Regions from separate parts of the Homo sapiens genome. Here regions 2, 3 and 4 are each linked to region 1. The links are contacts of gene promoters, found by promoter capture Hi-C in human tissues and cell types (Jung and others, 2019). All regions are on one chromosome and are shown on one strand. The core of a region is centred on a gene start or on the middle of the fragment in contact, and the rest is flanking DNA. Distances in the headings are between cores, read along the strand shown. Region 1 holds the start of DYNC1I1 (dynein cytoplasmic 1 intermediate chain 1). Region 2 has its middle 40 kb from the start of DYNC1I1. Region 3 overlaps DYNC1I1 (dynein cytoplasmic 1 intermediate chain 1). Region 4 overlaps LOC105375409 (a long non-coding RNA gene).

What was found. Contacts are between HindIII fragments. The study calls those that stand out against the background at their distance.
Region 2: a contact is called between a fragment that was not itself captured here and the fragment with the promoter of DYNC1I1 in region 1, in 1 of the 25 tissues and cell types used here (heart left ventricle).
Region 3: a contact is called between a fragment that was not itself captured here and the fragment with the promoter of DYNC1I1 in region 1, in 3 of the 25 tissues and cell types used here (H1 embryonic stem cells, mesendoderm cells and thymus).
Region 4: a fragment that was not itself captured here is called in contact with the fragment with the promoter of DYNC1I1 in region 1 in 1 of the 25 tissues and cell types used here (adrenal gland).

What each region holds. Positions count from the first base shown.
Region 1 is chr7:95,771,005-95,773,969 of GRCh38, reverse strand. DYNC1I1 (dynein cytoplasmic 1 intermediate chain 1) reads right to left here and starts at 1,416. Exons shown (of 17, transcript NM_001135556.2): 1 at 1,197-1,416. The HindIII fragment of the contact is 6,379 bases long and covers 1-2,965 here.
Region 2 is chr7:95,731,282-95,734,493 of GRCh38, reverse strand. No RefSeq gene overlaps it. Among named protein-coding and RNA genes, the nearest start is that of DYNC1I1, 40 kb to the left of the region's middle. The HindIII fragment of the contact is 4,831 bases long and covers 1-3,212 here.
Region 3 is chr7:95,811,242-95,814,425 of GRCh38, reverse strand. DYNC1I1 (dynein cytoplasmic 1 intermediate chain 1) reads right to left here. Exons shown (of 17, transcript NM_001135556.2): 4 at 1,089-1,179. Among named protein-coding and RNA genes, the nearest start is that of DYNC1I1, 40 kb to the right of the region's middle. The HindIII fragment of the contact is 5,109 bases long and covers 1-3,184 here.
Region 4 is chr7:95,709,705-95,712,894 of GRCh38, reverse strand. All of the region lies in intron 2 of LOC105375409 (a long non-coding RNA gene), which reads right to left. Among named protein-coding and RNA genes, the nearest start is that of DYNC1I1, 61 kb to the left of the region's middle. The HindIII fragment of the contact is 4,908 bases long and covers 1-3,190 here.

The DNA of each region.
Region 1 (2,965 bases), core at 167-2,666:
ATTAGAGGTAGTATTACATTCTCACCAGTACCCTCAGCTTGCAAATTGCACTGAATATTCCCTTTTCAAATTTACTAACACTGATCAACGTATATCTCTATAATTTCCACAATTAAAGTATGTACACAGACTGGTTACCCATGTCTGTGTTAACATCAGGCGTTGGGTTGTCACCTGCAGTTGCCTATGCCTTACTGTTAGCTATACTTTTTGCTAATCTGGAATATTTGGAAGCAATTCTTCACAACTCTGAACTACAATAAGTCTACAATGCCCACTTGAAAGGCATTCCAAGCAAGAAAATGGCTGGCTACTTGTTCCTGCCCCTTACCTAGGATTAGTAGAGGCCAGAATAGCGAATATATTCCATCTTCTGCATGTTGTTGAGTCTCTGATCTCCTATGTAATTTCCTGTCCTGATCCTGGGCTTCTGTTTAATCTTATTAGCCAAGGTACAAGTCATGAGACTCCCGCACACTCAGTTCCCATCAGCGCTGCCAGGATCACTGCCCTTATGATGACGACGCACGGATTTATAAGGCCAGAGCGATTCCGAATGGGAGCGGGGGAAGGAGAGCCAGGCGGCCGTGAAGGTGTTTACCAAAACAACATCCCCCAGCCACACTTTTTCGCAGCAGAGAGAAACTGGCATCTTCTCGCTTTGAAGTGTTTAATTAATGCCCTGCTGGAAGTGAATTCGCTCCCTCCGACTTGCAGGGTAGTGACAGCATCTAAGAGCTTTGCAGACAGCTCGAAATGTAATCAAACAGCATCCTTTCCCCTCCCTCTGCAGCTTTCCCCCTCCTCCAGGGGCAGTCAGCCGGTGGCCCAGAGGGGTGCAGATTTCAGCGCCGCTCGCCCACTGCTCCCCCGGGGAAGACCGAGGCGGGGCGCACTGGGACGCCCTTCCCAGCCCACAAGGTGGGCGACCAGGTGGTGACACCACGACCCTTCCTTCTCTGCCCTAGTCTCTCGGCTCTGCCGAGAGGGGGGTGTCACTGGGGGGCTTTGGCCGCCTTCGGGCTCAGCGGAGCACGCAGGAGCCTGGGCAGGGGGCCAGGACAAGGGTCCGGCTGCGGCTGCAGGGGCCTCGGCTCCAGCCTGGTTCCCAGCGCAGACGACACCGGGGTGGGGAGGGTTGGGGAGAGGTGCGGAGGCGGCCGTCCGGGGAGCGGCGACATCCCGCTCCAGTTTACCTGGACGCGCTCGGCAGCGGCGGAACTGGGCTCCCCGAGCCGGCGGCGGCTCCTGGGCGGCGGCAGCGTTGGTGCAGGCGGCTCCCGAAGGTGGCGGGGCCGGCGCGGGCAGGATGTGCTGTCTCACGCTGCGCCGGCCGCTCGGCTCGCGCTCCTCCGGGAGCGATCACTTCCTCTCTCCCAGAGCCTGACACTGACAGCTCCCCGGAGCACTCAGTCTGCGGGGCTCGCCCCGCCCCCTGCCCACGCCCTCCACGCCCGCGCCCCTCCTGAGGGAGGGCCTCCGCTCCGCGTCTTCCGCGCCCGGTCTCGCCAGGAGGGGGTGGCGCCGCTCCGTAGGCTGGTGGCGAGCAGAGGACCTGGAAAGGTCAATTCGTCTATCCCTCTAACGTCGGTAGGACTTAGACCTCAGTTGCTGCAAAGAGAAGAGCTTCAATATTCTGGGAGCTCCTGCTGAAATGCCACCATTGAACAACTTTCACTCCCAGGCAACTACACTTCTTAAGGTCATTTAAATAGAAATAAAGCTCAGATCTACCTGTTGTACACAATGACTTATAGGTCTGATTGATCCCAATTTTTCTAGAAGAAAAAAGAATTAAGTGTGTGTGTCTGTGTGTGTGTGTGTGTGTGTGTGTGTGTGTGTGGTGTGGTGTGTGTGTAGCTTGTCTTCACATTGCTTCTTAAAGTCCCAGCTTTTAAAAATCTGGGTAACTGGCCAGACGCGGTGGCTCACGCCTGTAATCCAAGCACTTTGGGAGGCCGAGGAGGGCGGATCACCTGAGGTCGAGAGTTGGGGGACCAGCCTGACCAACATGAAAAAACCCCGTCTCTACTAAAAATACAAAATTAGCCGGGCGTGGTGGTGCATGCCAGTAATCCCAGCTACTCGGGAGGCTAAGGCAGGAGAATGGTTGAACCCGGGAGGCGGAGGTTGTGGTGAACCGAGATCCCGCCACTGCACTCAAAGCCTGGGCAACAAGAGCGAAACTCCGTCTCGGGGAAACAAAAAAAAATCTGGGTAACTATTATTGGACTCTGCAAAAAACAAGCTTGCCACAACAGCTAAGTTATAAGGCCAAAAAATTGAGTTTGGGATGTTAGGGGGTTTGGTATCATTTTATAGATGAGCTTTTCATCATATTTCTTGCACATCTGTGGTGTATTTTTACACATTAGAATGTAAATTAGTGGAGGGCAGGGACGCTATCTTGTTCACTGCTGTATTCTTAGTATCTAGAACAGCATTCTGATATATAATGGGTACTCAGTAAATATTTATGAACTTATTAATTCACAAGTACTACAGTAATTTCAAAATAAATACAGATTCTAGTATGAATACAGTATGAATACATACTCATCTGTAAATGGCCATCCTTATTCTAAAACTTTGGCCTCCCTGGCTAATCTACTGCGATTGTAACTATGGCTAGAAATGAAGAGGTTAAATGTCTAGGTAGAAGGTATTCAAGGTATTCCAGAAGGAAAAATCTAGGAAATAAATATTTGCCACTACCGTGACTGAATATTTAATACATGTCAATTCTACATACATTTTTCTTTAACTTTTCTATAACATTATGTAGTACATATAACGAATGCCATGCCTCCAGAAAAGGAACTTGAGTCAAAGAAGTTAACTCCCTTGCCCAAGTTCCATAACCACTGAGTGATCTAGCTGAGATTTGAATTCCCATTCATCTGCAGCTTGTACTTTAACTACTTTGTATTTTGGTCTTTCCAACATGGCATTGCTTTTGTTGTTG
Region 2 (3,212 bases), core at 564-3,063, 40 kb after region 1:
CTAATTATGGTGGTGAGAACATATGTGTTTGTCATATTATTCTTTGTACTTTTCTATATCTTTTAAAGTTGCCAAAAGGAAAATTAAAACTCTCTTTCTATATATATTTCCAGATATATGTGGATAACTTTTTAGGAAAATATAATTTTTATGTGACCTTTGTAGCAATAAAAATATAAACAGCCCATATGCCTTAGAAGAAACAGAGACATTTTCAAAGTGCCCTCACAAAGAAAGCATCCACCCCAGATGATTCCTCTAGAAAATTTCACAAAATGTTAAAGATTAGATAGTCCCAATACCACCTAAACTACTACTAAACATAGAAAAGTAAGTAAACTTTTACCTTCTTAATGAAGTAAGTATAATGGGTGATAACTAAGCCTCTTACATATTGTCTACTTTTTTAAATTAGTGTCCTGAATATATTAAGTTCTTGAACATAAATTAATTGTAATTTTCAATTCCCTGATAATTCCTTTTAAAAAAAGCTTTAAAATTGACAGACAAAGTTGAATGTATCTACCACATACAACATGATGTTTTAAATTATATATACATTGTGAAATGACTAAATCTAGCTAATTAACATATATGCATTATGTTACATAGTTATTATTTTTGTGGTGAGAACACTTTACATCCACTCTCAGCATTTTTCAAGAATGCAATATATTATTAACTATAGTCACTATGTTGTACAATAAAGCTCTTGAATTTATTCCTCCTATCTAACTAAAATTTTGTGTCCTTTGACTAATTCCTTGTTCCCACCCCACCCCAAGTCTGATAATTCTAACATCTGTGTCATAGCTGAGTCTGGTTCTAATGAATGCCTGTCACTGCCACTGTGATTTTTTCTTGCCTTTTGTCATGCCTTATAATTTTCTTTGGAAAGCTAGACATGTTGTATTGGGTTATAGGATCTGGAGTAAACTGACCTTCAGTGTGTGGATTTGGGATTTGTGTTCATCTGGCTAGGAGCTGAGCTATGTTTAATGCTTGCTGTAACTATAGGTGCCAGAGCCTTTGAGTTCCTTTAGTTTCCTTGTTTTTGTATTCCCTTTGCACTTTGGGCTTCCCAAAGTACTCTTCCTCAGAAAGTCTGTGTCTTGTAGCTCCTAACAATTGCCGTCTGCTGTTATTCTACCTCAGCCCTGTTGGTAGGGTGGTAACGTGTAGGGAGGGGAAGCCTTCTATAATCTTATGATTAAATCTCAGTCTTTTAGTGGATGTATGTCTCAAAGCTATGACTTTCACAAGTACTTCTCTAGTGGTAAGGCTTCTTTTTTCCCTCTGCTCCTTACTTCCTTCTCTGGCTATGATGTTCTAGTTTATTTCCCTGAAGCCCAGCCCCCTTAGGTAAGGCAAGAAGGCTGAAGGAAGAATGCCCTTTTCTTAGATGGGATGAGGCTCTGGCAAATTCCCTCCCCTGCAGAGAACTATCTTGTGATGGAGAAGCATGTGAGGATAATTCACAACGAAGAGAATCTTTCCTGGATCTTTGCTATGAGAACCTGATGAAGTTCTGGAGGTAAAACCAATGACAGTGTAGGACACCCCCTAAGACTTTGGCCCCCAAGAGATTTTCACTATTACACTAGTCCACACTCAGCCTCTAGCAATGAGTCAAAATTATCATTTAAGTGTTTCTGACTTTAACGGCCTCTGCTTCACCTAAGCAGATCTCAGCTGTGACTCCCCAGATACACTTGTCTCTCCAGATGTTGGGGTGGCAGTTTGCCACCCATGGTCTTCACTCTAGATGGGTCCAGGAAAAGTGAATGATTTCCAGTGTGTCCGATTTTTTTCTTGAGTTAAGAATGGGGGGCCGGGCGCGGTGGCTCACGCCTGTAATCCCAGCACTTTGGGAGGCCGAGGCGGGTGGATCATGAGGTCAGGAGATCGAGACCATCCTGGCTAACAAGGTGAAACCCCGTCTCTACTAAAAATACAAAAAATTAGCCGGGCGCGGTGGCGGGCGCCTGTAGTCCCAGCTACTCGGGAGGCTGAGGCAGGAGAATGGCGTGAACCCGGGAAGCGGAGCTTGCAGTGAGCCGAGATTGCGCCACTGCAGTCCGCAGTCCGACCTGGGCGACAGAGCGAGACTCCGTCTCAAAAAAAAAAAAAAAAAAAAAGAATGGGAGTGACAACCTCCACGCTCTTTACTTGGTATAGCTAAACCAGAAGTCTCAAAAAGTTATGACAAAAACCTGCAAAATCAACCTCAATGCGCAAGAAAGGAAATAAGAAAAATAAGGGCAGAAATTAGTGAAGTAGACAATGAGTCTCTGACAACTAAAATCAACAAAAAAGGTGGTTTGTTGAAAATTGATAACATCTAATAAGACTAATCAATAAAAGGGAGAAGGCACAAATATAAGAGTATCAGAGCTGGAAAAGGTGGCGTCACTGGAGATTTTCAAGGCAATATAACAGTAAATAAGACTATATCAACATATTAGAAACAATTTTATGCCAATACATATGAACATATAGAAGATATGACCATACTTTTATTAAATACGACTTAACAAAATGGACAGGAGAAATAGATATCTAAACAGACCTACATGGTTAAATATTTACAATTTCTATAATGCAAACTAAATATTAAAGAAACTAAATCACTAATATAAAACCTTCCCCACAAAGAAAACTCCAAACTCTGACAGATATCTAAACAAATTCTGTTTTTAAAAAACAAATAATAAATAGCTTCAATATTTTATAAGTTTTTTCAGTGACATGCAATTAGAGGAGGAAGAATGCATGTCAGATATTGGGCAGCCAGTGGCACGGACAGGATTGACATTTGACAGTCATCTTTGGTTGCCCAGCAAACAGATCCCATTTATATTGTTAAAACCAAACAAGACCGGGCACAGTGGCTCATGCCTGTAATCCCAGCACTTTGGAAGGCTGAAGTGGAAGGATTGCTTAAACCTGGAGTTTGAGACCAGCCTAGGCAACAAAGAGAAACTCAAAAAATAGAAAATAATTAGCTCGGCATGGTGGCACGTACCTATGGTGCCAGCTACTCAGGAGGCTGAGGTGAGGGGATCACTTGAGCCCTGGAGTTTAAGGCTGCAGTGAGCTGTGTTTGCACCACTGCACTCCAGCCTAGGCAACAGAATGAGACCCTCATCTCTAAAAAAATTTAAAAATTTAAATAATAAATAAATAAAAACAAAACGCCACAGCACATGAGT
Region 3 (3,184 bases), core at 325-2,824, 40 kb before region 1:
TCTTAGAACAGCAGTGCTGTAGATGGTTGTTTCTTCTTTTATTTAAAACTTGATTAAAGCATTTTATGATTTTTTTAAATTAAGAGTCAAAGCTAGAGTTCATAAATTGCCACAGGCCAAATCTGGCCCATAACTACTTGGAACAAAAGTCATTAACATTTAACATTCAGGAGATTATCACCTGAATATCTGAATTTGTAGCTTCTCAAGAAAAACTGGAAAATGCGGAAAAATTGGGTCCATCATATCATGTGAGCTCAACCAGCTTGAGCTATGAGGGGGCCATCTGGCCTTTAAGAATTGGGTGCAGTTGCCATACTCACATAAATTCCTGCCTGTGGACCCCGGCATGTGGGAACACTGGTGAAGACAGCTGGATTCGGAGATTTACCATGACTCCATCTACATTTATGAAACTTCTCCTTTCTTCTTTTTACATCTTTACCTTTTGGATACCTCTTCAGTGATTAAATTACAGAATGTCTAGATCTACTTTCAGAAGTTACATAATCTGTGAGTCTACATAGTGTAATACAAATTTGGCAATGAACTCACTAAACAGAAGCAGCCAATCCTGATACTACTACTACCAATAATAATACAATAAAAATACTTAGGTGACTGAGTTTTCAAATTAGTCAACTTTACTAAGCAAATAACTCACTTGAAAAATTAAATTTAGAATTAGAACATCTCAATATTCTATTCACAAAGACTTTCATGGAAACCAAAACCAAAGTAGGATAATAAGAAGCTGGATATATATTCAATTATCTACTAAATAATGAAAAGGCTTCTCCCTGCCTTTTTTAAGCCTAAGCTAATGGATATGTGTGTGTTTGTTAAGCAAGACACATGGTGCTAAATTAGCCCACTCAAAGAAGGATGATATATGTTGATCATTTCTAGTGTTCAAGATCATTGCTATTCCACTAAAAATAGCAAGCCACCATAAATTTAAACATAAGATGTCCAAGTACACATGCAGATACATGCACATTTCACAGTATTCTAACAGTGGTGTTGTTGCTGTTTTTTTTTTTTTTTAATTGACACCCATCATGGCCTTTTAAAGGGACAATTCTTACCTTGTTAATGGCCCCAGATCGCCTGAGTCTTGGCTTCCAGCTTCACTGGGAGTGCTCACTGATTTCGAGGAGGGAGACATAGGGGTTGGGACTAAATAATGAAAATAACAGGTATCCCATGTTAAAAAATGCAGCGGCTGCACTGGTGAAGAGCAGTGTCAGACAAATCAAAACAAATGGGCCCAAATTAAAGTGGTTGTATGGCCAGGAGACATTGAGATGGGATAAAGAAAAAAAAAAAAAAGGAAAGAAAAGGAAAAAAGTCCAGTGAATTTTTTGTATTTTGGAAATTAAAATTTGAAATGATTTAGACAGAATTAACCTAGGGATTCTGAGGCCATGTCCACCCTAACAAAGTAAAATGAAGCATCAAAATAGCTATCCAGATAATTCAAGTCAAATATCTCTCTAACATGAACCATCCAGATAATTCTGATTCTTCACATTATTTTGTTAGTATAGATGTGACCTATTAAAAATAAAACAAGGTGTCTATAAAACTTTAAAAGGTTATTAAATAAGTGATTCTGAATAATTTTAAATGGTCAAGGACAGTCAGAAAAATCTGTTGTATGTCTGCATTGAGAGAGAAATGTACTCTGTGGAATATAAGCTGTTTGCCATGAGAGCCTAAGTGACAGATAGAGAAAGGGTAAATGTTGAAACTGGTAATTAAAAAGTCTCTTTCAAAACAAAGAAAAATGCCAGGCTGCTTTATTTTTACATTTAATTAATAGTTGCATCCCATTGTACTGTTTACTGTCTTTGGGACTTGTTTTGCCTTGCCTCCAGCAGCTCTAGAAGACCCTGCCATGTGCACAGAAGTAAGCTGCCACTCTGAAGACAGGAGACAAGTTCAAAGATCAAGGTCGGCACAAGCTGAAAATCTGAGAGCAGGCATAATAAAAGAAAAAAGCTAAAGCCAATGCAATTTTTTCCCCCTTCCTTCAGATACAAGCCAAATGTCCTTCAGATAGAAGCTGCACCAAATAGCCAAGATGGCTCCAGGCCAGGCAATTCAACGGGTTCTCAATATCACATATGCCAGAGAAGCCATATGGATAGAAAGAAATTTCAGTACGTAAATGTAGATTCCCATTTGGTTTCAATCATGTGCAATTTCCTTTTATTTACTTAATAGGGTAAAGGGCTTAACTGTTTTACCCAAATCCTATAACACAATGGCAGATCTGTCGAGAAGCTAGGAATTTTCATGTGGTCCCACAATTAATTCACTGATTACTTACCCTCTGAGTAAGCTCAGAGGGTAAGTCGAAGAGATGGCTGAAAAATGAAAACAGGGCCCTTGCCAGAGTCCGTTGGCAGTAATGCAAGGATACTTCAAAAGTTGGTCATGGTTTAGAGATGTTAATCTGTTTTGTTCTTAAAGTTTAATTACTGGCTTTATGTAGGGTAGGGGAGACTAGGACATACTATTATTGTATTTAACCAGTGTTCACATTGCAACATAATTTCAAAGGCTATTTTGAGGCACAAATATAATTGATTGCAATGTGTCTAACTCATATCAGATGTCAACTAAGTAGAAAAAAATGTGTATCAGCTCCTAAGTAGAAAAGAAGGTCCATCAGTCAAATATAACGTCCCCTAGGTTACATCTTCCACAACATGAAGAAATTAAACCAAAGAATCTAATCTTATTGGGGCTTATTATAGCATTGTTGAACATACTATTTTTACCTATTACAAATTGAGATTGAGTATAAAATGATTTTTAATAGTGTTTTAGTTTTGTGTGTATTAAATTACATCCAGCAATACTTAATAATTTTTAAGCTTATTATATATTGTTCTTTTTCTTATTCACATTGATATAAACATTTGCCATTTTGTTCTACATGGGATAATTTATATTCTTAGTTTAACTAACTATGGAAATAAATGATAATTTATTTTAATATAAAAGTAAATTATGGAATTAACTTCAGAAGAAAGTATTCTAAACAAAAGATCTGAATACTGTATTTATTTTTATGTATTCTTCCAAAAGGGTTTTTAACTATATTGGATATAATGTAGTTTTATAGACACCCTAGGATTAATCTTAAATGTATGGAAAACAAAAGGATAAAAGA
Region 4 (3,190 bases), core at 253-2,752, 61 kb after region 1:
TAAAATGAGTTTGTTAAGTGTCTCTTTTTTTGTTTTTCTGAGTTTCTGTAGAACTGGTTTTATTTGTTCCTTAAATGTGTAGTAGAATTTGCAATTAAAGTCATCGCTGTGTGAAGTTTACTTTGTTCAAAGATTTTTAAAAAGAAATTTAATTACTTTAATCGGTATAGGACAATTTGGATTACATTTTCTGCTGGCATTACTGATGTGAGTCACCATGTCCAACCCTGTCTTTGTATTTAAATTGGGAAACTTTTAGAGAACGTATGATTGGGTCTTATTTGTTTGTTTGTTTTGTCCACTCCAACAATTTTTGACTTTTAATTGGTTTATTTAAACCACATTTAAAGTGATGAGCTATATAGTTGTATTAATATCCACTGTGTTTGTAACTACTGTCTGTTCATTACATTTGTTCTTTGTTTCTTTTTTATTTTCCTCTTTTTCTGTTCCCATTCATCCCTTAAAAAATTGCTGTCATTCATTTCATGTATCCATATACTATAGTCACACAGTAATTGTTACTATTTTCAGTTTAAACAGTTATTTATTTGATTAATTTATTTACAATAGCTATTTATTTGATCAATTCATTTATTTCTTCTTCAATGCTCTTTCTTTCTTCATGTAGATTAAAGTTTTTTTCCTATATCATTTTCCTTCTCTCTGAACTACTTTTTAAAAACATTTCTTGCAGGGAAAGTCTGCTGTTGATTAATTTCCCCAGTTTTTATTTGTATGAGAATGTTTTTATTTCTCTTTCACTTTTGAAAGATAATTTTGCCAGATATAATGGTATATTAGTGAAGATTTTTCTTTCAACACTTTAAATATTTCACTCCACTTTCTTCTTGCTTGCATAGTTTCTGATGGGAAGTCTGATGTAATTTTCATCATTGTTTCTTTTTAGGTAAGTTGTATTTTCCTTCTCTGGCTTTCTTCAAGATCTTCTCCTTGTCTTTGGTTTCCTGTAGTTTTAACATGATATTCCTAGGTAAAGATTTTTGGTATTTATACTGTTTTGTGTTCTTTGAACTTCCTGAATCTGTGATTTGATGCCTGACACTAATTTTGGAAAATTCTCAGTCATTATTACTTCAAATATTTATTCTGCTTGGTTCTTATTTTCTTTTCCTTCTGGTATTCCAGTTATGCATGTATCATGCCTTTTGAAGTTGTCTCACATTTCTTGGATGAGTTGTTCTGGTTTTTTTTTAATTATTGTTATTTTTTCTCTTTGCCTTTCTGCTTGGGAAGTTGTATTGGCATATCTTCAAGTTCACTGATTCTTTTCTTGGCCATATCCAGTCTACTGGTGAGCTCATAACAGGCATTCTGTATTTCTGTTGCAGTGTTTTTTAAATTTATTTATTGCATTTCCATTTGATTCTTTTTTAGATTACCTGTCTCTGCTTATATTATCTATTTACTCTTAAATTTTGTCTTTCTTCCATTAGATTCATTCATATATTAATCATAGTGATATTAAATTCTCTGATAATTCTAAATTCTGTGACATATCTGAGTCCGGTCTTATGCTTACTTTGTTTCTTCAGATTATGTTTGTTTCTGGCCATTAAGCATTACTTGCAAGTTAAAAAAAAATCCAGACAAGATGTATCAATTAATAGGAACTAAGGTAAAAAGGCCTTTGTTATGAGAGTTTATGCTAATCTGGCTAGGTGTTGGCTATGTTTAATGTTTCCTGTACATGGTTTCAATTTCCTTTAGAGTCCTTTTTGTGTTGTTGTTCTTTTTCCATTGTTGTCTTTGGGTTTCCATTTAAAGCTTCTTCAGCTGTGATCCACTGTTATAGTGGAATCCCATTGATGTGGTAGTGAAGTGTGGAAGGAAGAAACACATTCTATAATCCTATGATTAAATTTCAGTCTTTAATGAACCTGTGTCTCTGGGCTATAACCCATTTTCCTCCCTCACATGAGACAAGAGGGCTAGAGAGGACTGGAGTTGGGTAATTTCCTCCAAGCTGAATAGGCTCTAATAAAGTCTTTTCCCCTGGTGAATAAGACTTTGTTATGGAGAATGCTCTGGGCATATCTCAAAATGGTTACATTTTCCCTCCCACTTCTAGAAATGTGAGAGCTCTTTCTTGGCTTATCACTGTGAGAAACTGATGGGATTCCTGGAAACAAAACCTATGAAAATGTGGAGGATCCCCAATACTCTGTCACCCCCCAAAATCCATCACTCTCATGCTAATCTACATTCTGCCTTCAGCAATTCATCAAAGTTACCATATAAGTGTTCTTATCAGTTTGCAGCTCAAGTAGTTCCTGTTCTAGGTAAATTCATCTCATCTGTGATTCTCTGCATTCACCTGTCTCTCCAGATGTTGGTGTGGCAGTATGCCCTACAAAGAGGTTCTCTGATGGATTCAATAAAAATCAGTGGTTTTCAATTTATTCACTTATTTTGTTCTTGTAAGGGGAGTAGTGGTAACTTCTAAGTTCTCTACATATTGGAGTTGAAACCAGAAATTTTTATTTTATTTTATATATCCTATAAACTCGCATTGCTACTATATTTGTTTATAGATGAATAACAATCTTTTAGAGCAATTAAAATAAAATTAAAGATATCTTTTATATTTATCCTTATTTTATACATTAATGGAGTTGTTCACTTCTTTGTGTAAACCCAGTTTTCTGCTAGCTAACATATTCCTTCTGCCTGAAGATTTTCTTCATCATTTTTTTTTAGATGGATTCTTACTCTGTCATCAGGCTGCAGTGCAGGGGCACAATCTCAGCTCACTGCAACCTCTGCCTCCCGGGTTCAAGCAATTCTCCTGCCTCAGCCTCCCGAGTAGCTGGGACTACAGGCACCCACCACCACACCTGGCTAATTTTTGTATTTTTAGTAGAGACGGGATTTCACCATGTTGGCCAGGATGGTCTCAATCTCTTGACCTTGTGATCCACCCGCCTCGGCCTCCCAAAGTGCAGGTGTGAGCCACGTGCCCGGCGATTTTCTTCATCATTTCTCATCATGCTGTGCCGCTGTTAATAAATTCCCTCAATTTTTGTTTTGCTGAAATAAAAGGTCATCATTTCTCATTCATTTTTGAGATTTTTGCTGGGCTTAGGATTTTTAAATTGACAGGTATGTTTCTTTCTCAACATTTTAATGATGTCACTCCATTGTTTTCTGGCTTGCATATTTCTGATAA